2 separate regions of the Homo sapiens genome follow, and region 1 is linked to region 2. The links are contacts of gene promoters, found by promoter capture Hi-C in blood cells and fetal thymus (Javierre and others, 2016). All regions are on one chromosome and are shown on one strand. Each heading gives the region's core, a stretch centred on a gene start or on the middle of the fragment in contact. The rest is flanking DNA. Distances are from core to core; before and after follow the strand shown.

What was found. The method cuts DNA at HindIII sites, captures the fragments that hold promoters and counts their contacts. A CHiCAGO score of 5 or more calls a contact.
Region 1: a contact is called between a fragment that was not itself captured here and the fragment with the promoter of SDAD1-AS1 in region 2, in 8 of 17 cell types (naive B cells, total B cells, M0 macrophages and 5 more). The highest score is 10.3, in naive B cells.

The regions. Positions count from the first base shown.
Region 1 is chr4:76,061,346-76,064,489 of GRCh38, reverse strand. It overlaps a transcript of ART3 not described here. Among named protein-coding and RNA genes, the nearest start is that of ART3, 12 kb to the left of the region's middle. The HindIII fragment of the contact is 935 bases long and covers 1,311-2,245 here.
Region 2 is chr4:75,978,959-75,982,133 of GRCh38, reverse strand. It overlaps SDAD1-AS1 (SDAD1 antisense RNA 1), which reads right to left and starts at 1,344. Exons shown (of 3, transcript NR_125906.1): 1 at 1,169-1,344. SDAD1 (SDA1 domain containing 1) reads left to right here. Exons shown (of 22, transcript NM_018115.4): 2 at 97-201; 3 at 664-762. The HindIII fragment of the contact is 11,776 bases long and covers 1-3,094 here.

The DNA of each region.
Region 1 (3,144 bases), core at 529-3,028, 82 kb before region 2:
ACAAGTTAGGATTTTATTTCCATCTCTGCTGTTTCAATGTCATGATCACTATTCACACTCAAAACAAAACATTTTTATGTCAAGATCAAATGAATATTCCTTTCCCATACTCCACTAATCCCTTAAAATCATGCCTCACTTTTGTCTCTTTTGTATTTAGATCACTAAAATTTTTTATTTTTCCTTTAGTTTCTGAGTGCCTTTTTTGGTGGTGATGGTAGTGGTGATCATGGTGGTTGTTGGGAAAAGTAGTATTTGTCTCCATCGTGTACCTAATGTGCTTCTATTTCCAATTCTATTGCTTGGAATCCATTTTGTTCTTATTCTTGAAGACCAGTTCTAACCTGGACAAACTGCTCTCCAGGCCAACAACTAGGAGACTAGAAAATCTTTCAATTGAATCCCTGGGTACTTTTTCCATTTCTTGTACTCTACAGTGGTTTTATTTTTTTAATTTATTTTTTGTCTCATGCTACTGCATCTACAGCTTTTTGCTTCATATTTATCTTTGTTTTGTAGGAATATATTCTGAAATTATTTCCTTAAAAAGGATGCATGGAAGATAAACATTTTCAGTGCTTTCATTTTTGAAATGTGAATCTGATGAACAGTTGGCTAGTATATAATTCTAGGTTCAAAATAATTTTTCCTCAGAACTTTGTATAATACATGAAACTCTAAAAGATTTGTATAAATTCAATGTTTAGTGCCAAAATTATTCTATTTTTCACTATCATTGTTTTAAACTAATTTTCAAGTGCAGGCTTTATATTACTTTTAGCTTTCTTGTTTTTATGTTCTCCGAGTCTCTGTCAAATAATGATATATAAATACATGACTACTTAAATACCTATTGGGAAATTCTCATCAAAGGAATATATATGGCACAACCGGAGAGACCTTATTGTAAGTCCATTTTCTAATTTTTTCAACAAAATTCAGGATTTTTTCCTAGTTTCTTTTTGTGAATCTTGTCTTCCTAACTACAGATTATAAGCTTCTTTTAATCTCATTTTAAACTCCTCATTTCTCTCCCCATTACTCCCAGCTTAAAATGGTATAAGGTACAGAGAATATATTCAAGACCTAGTTAAGAGAGATTTGGTCAGCAATGCTTTTAACTCTTCCTGAATTATGTCTTGAATCTAGTATATGCTTATTTATAATTGTAACAAGTTTTTGCAATGACTCATTCCTTCATTACATTTAATCTACAAATGTTTACTGAGCACCTACTATAGGCCAAGCACTATTCTAGGTGTTGGGATGTTGTCAGTGAACAAAATAAAAATCCCTGCCTCCAGGAAGCTTCCGTCCATGAAGTAGTAGAGAAAAAGAAGGCAGGCAATAAACAATGAAAATAATAAATTAGTAATTACGCAGTGAAAGAGATAAAGAATGAAGAAGTGTGAAGTGTGGGGAGTTGGGGCACACTATAGTATTAAATAGAGTGGTCAAGGTAGGCCTCACTGAGAGAGTGAAATTTAGCAAAAACCTGAAGGAGGTAAGGGACTTAAACAAGTGATTAGCTGTAGGAAAGCATTCCTTACAGAGAGAATAGCTAGAAGTGTATTGTTCAATGGCCACTAGCCACCACATGTAGCTACTGAGCATTTGAAATGTGACTTGGGGCCGGGCTCGGTGGCTCACACTTGTAATCCCAGCACTTTGGGAGGCTGAGGTGGGCGGATCACGAGGTCAGGAGATCAAGACCATCCTGGCTAACACAATGAAACCCCATCTCTACTAAAAATACAAAAAATTAGCCAGGCATGGTGGCAGGCACCTGTAGTCCCAGCTACTCGGGAGGCTGAGGCAGAAGAATGGCGTGAACCCGAGAGGCGGAGCTTGCCGTGAGCCGAGATCCCACCACTGCACTCCAGTCTGGGCAACAGAGCGAGACTCTGTCTCAAAAAAAAAAAAAAAAAAAGATTTATTTTTCTTTCACATAAGGATGAGATGCTCTGAGATGTTTAAATCTCTGCAAAATGGTGGATCATTTTTAAATGCTTAGCAATAACGATAATTTATAACAACTAATAGCTAGCCTTTATTAACTACTTAATTACACACAAGGCACTGTATATTTTATATTGACTAAACTGTATAGTTCTCATAATAAACCTAAAAAAATAGTTATTAACTTTTTTCCCAAGGTTGGAAACCCCCATGAAGTAACAATCATTAGAACATAAGTCAAATTTAAAAGAAAACTAAAGATACTTAATGCTTTTTAATGTAAGCTTACTCTCTCTGGAACAGGATATCTTAGCTTTTAAAAAATAGGAAGCAAAACTAAAAGGGGTAATCCCTCTTGCAGATAAGAACAGTGGATGATTACATGAGTAGGTCTGGTAGCTTTCTTATACGAGACCATCATCCATAATGACTTTCTCTTCTGAAGTAACTCTTTAGTGAGTTCCTGTCTATTCCTACTCCAAATACCAAACTCAAATGCTCTCTTCTTAGCATTTACATAAAACTAACAAAAGGCTACCCTCAAACTATTCCAGAAACATTGCCATCTAAAATTGTCCTTTAGGGAAAGGGACTCTAGAAATTCGTGTAAAAATCCACTTCAGTGGTTCACAATTCTTATTCTTTGGCATTCTTCTCATTTACTCTTTAAACCAACATTTACTGAGCCCCTAACTAAAGTGACAATTCAGTTGAAGACTAAAGAAGTAGGAGTTAGGGAAACAAAGAAAGGAGGGCCTTCCAGTCAGATAAAAAAGTATGTACAAGGCACTGATGGCATACATAGCACATGTTCAAGAAAATGCAAGCCATTTAATACAGCTGGACAGCATGATATGTTTTATGGAACACAAAGAGTTAAAAAGTTGGGGAGGAAAGAGGAATCAGATCATAAAGAGCGCCTTGTGTGTAATGCTTAGAAATTGGAACTTGACTGAAATGGCAATGGGAAACCATGAAGTAGAGGAGAAACATAATCTGATTGAAAAGGTCACTTTCATAGAACAGAAGAATAAATTACCAAGACATTTTAACAAGAGGCAGGAAGATGTGTTGGGAGATTACCTGAGAAATCCAAGTGAGAAGTGGTGGGAGCTTGACCTAAATCAGTGGTAATAAACCCCAAATCAAAATGATTTGGTATCAATTATATAGCATAGGGATGTG
Region 2 (3,175 bases), core at 95-2,594:
CGTCAACAGTTTCTACTAAGAATTTCTCTACTGAATGTCTGTACTGAGAAAGTCATGTAATACAATGTGACAAACTTAAATTTTATTTTTCTGCAGTTTCTACAGCAGTATAATCACTACAAATCCAATGTGGAGATTTTCAAATTGCAACCAAATAAACCCAGCAAAGAACTAGCAGAGCTGGTGATGTTTATGGCACAGGTAAGAATATAATTGCTTAAATAAAGACCAGTATTAACACACAGTTTGCTGAATGTTTTTTCACTAATACTCAACCTTATTCCACTCTGGAATGGGAACTTAATTAAAATATTTTTCTAACTTTCCCTTTTTGCAAATTTTATTTTCTCCCTATCATGAGTTAGAGAATGTCACTAGATCTTTTTGCATAACTAACCAGGACAAAACTTTAAGACTATTTTTTTTCTTCAAATTCATCATAAAAGCAGGTACTAAATCATGCCATAAATATTACTAAGACTAGAGAAACCATGATAAATGTTGGAGAAATTAACATGTAGAAGGAAAAGAAGGTTGTTTGGAACCATCTACTTCTATGAAACATAGCCTTTTACTCTCGTTTTGCAGAACATCCTAAATGTATGCATCTGAATTATAGGAGAGAAAGAGAGCAACTTCAGAAGAGCCTTTGCTTTGTTACAGATTAGTCACTGCTACCCAGAGTACCTAAGTAATTTTCCTCAAGAGGTGAAAGATCTTCTCTCCTGCAATCATACCGTATTGGATCCAGATCTGCGAATGGTAGGACCAGTAGTTGGATGAATAAATTGTGCTGTGTTCATGTGTGCTGCGTTCATATATATTTAAATGAGAACAGCCTCTAAGCTAATTATCTTCAGAAAACGTAAATTATAATGTATTATCCTTTCCTAAAAATCCTTCTATGGCTTCTCATTTATACTTAGAGTAAAACGGAAACTTAATAACCTGGCTCAAAAGTGCCTGCATGATCTGCTTCCAGCCTGTGTTTCTGATATCATATTGTTTTCAGCTACACTGTGATCTTTCTATTCTTCCAGCACACTAACCCTACAGGATGCTCTTTAACCTTTTGAGATGATTTCTTCTAGTCATTCAAATCTCATATGCATGTAGAATCCTAATCACAACTTGTCATTTTTATAATGCCTTAAATTAGTAAACTTACCCATTAGACAGTCAGTTTGAGCATTTCATCATTGTCCTTTTAGTGGTTGGGGTTGAGTCCTGGCTGACATTCCCTTCACGAGGCCGGTGTACCTGTTTGCCCCACTTGTTGTGAATGTCAGCTGCTGGTGGCCCTCAGCTGCCCTTTCTCTGCAACATTGTCCTCAGCTAAATCGGAGTCCTAGTGCCTGGGAGGTGTCCTCCTACCCTAGTAGCCCACAGCCCATTATCATGTGGTACAAAAGCCCAGCCCATTACCTCAGGGTGGCTCTGACTCCAATGCAGGATGTGCTCCAGTGTTTTCCTGTGTTGGGACTAAAGCTAGTCTCCAGTCAAGGGCACATCCTTGCTTTGCTTTGCGTGTCTCTGCACTATCCTCCTTCCTTCACTTCCTTTCTGAGATCATACCCCCAACAAATCACTTGTAATAAATCAGTCTCTGCTTCTAGGGACTAAGACATTTCCAAATTTAATACATCTGCTTTTCAAACCTCTTTACAGCAGATAAGTACGCAAATATGATCACAAAACGTACTAATATCCTATAGCACAACTTGTAGAAATGCCAAGTCTTTAGATGAATATTTGTTTTCTTTTAGACTTTCTCAGGTTTTTTGTATTTCTATCATTTTTATACTACTTTAGGATTTTAGTAATTTGATTAGGCCAAAAAGAAAAAGAATACTGTCTCAGACAAGCCAAGGTTTCAGGCCCTGGGTTGTCAACTGATTGATACTCAGCTGGTACATGGGACCTGGCAGTATAGCCCAAGGGACTCCAAACTTGAACCCCTAGTCTAAAGGCTTTTACCTATGTCATGTTACTCTTGAAGTCCTTGTAGGTCATAGAGATTTGATATTTTGAGTATAGAGACTTAATGGCTTTCCAAGTAATTAGGATTTCTTTAAGTTTTATTTTCCTGGCAGTACCCCACCAAACTGGTCTGTGGGCATTATTAAATTAATATATATGCCAGGTGCACCTGTAGTCCCGGCTTCTTGGGAGGCTGAGGCAGGAGGATTGCTTGAGGTCAGGAGTTTGAGGCTGAGGTGTGGTATGAGCATGCCTGTGAATAGCCACTACACTGCAGCCTAGGCAACATAGCAAGATCCCACCTCTAAATTTTTTTTTAAATGGAAAAAAATGTGTATGTATATTTCTTTATAGTGCTTTATGATGATTAGTAGGTTTTTAAAAAATAATAAAGATTTCCGCCAGGCGCGGTGGCTCACGCCTGTAATCCCAGCACTTTGGGAGGCCGAGGCAGGAGGATCACCTGAGGTCGGGAGTTCGAGACCAGCCTGACCTACATGGAGAAACCCTGTCTCTACTAAAAATACAAAATAAGCCGGGCATGGTGGTGCGTGCCTGTAATCCCAGCTACTTGGGAGGCTCAGTCAGGAGAATTGCTTGAACCTGGGAGGCGGAGGTTGCAGTGAGCCGAGATCGCGCCATTGCACTCCAGCCTCTGTCTCAAAAAAAAAAAATAATAATAATAATAGAGATTTCCTTTACTAGGAGATAAAGGATTGCGTCTGTATAGTTAGCATTGCTCTTTAGAGGAAGCATTGAACACACTGGAAGAAGCTCTTTTTAATTGGTTATTGGGATAACCAACAATTCTTATCAGCCACTGGGCTATCTTTCTACCTGGTGTATTTGCTATTTTTCCAAGACTTTTTGAATCATTCCCAAGATTTTGTTCACTCTGTCCTGCTTACACAGATAGAAACATTGTATTTTTTTTGGAAGAAATAAAATATCCATATATAGTAATTCTTACCTACTTAGTCAAATCAATAAAAGTCAAGTTATATGTATTTCATTGACATTATAACTACCTTTTTATGTACTTTAAAACTTTTTTTTAGTATTATTATTTTAATTACTTTATGTTCAGATTGTCACCACCTTGCCAGGGGAAGCTTCTTAGTCCTTTTAGCAATTTCCCTGAATTTTTTTTTTTTTTTTTTTTTTTTTTTTTCTGAGACAGGGTCTGTCACTCAGC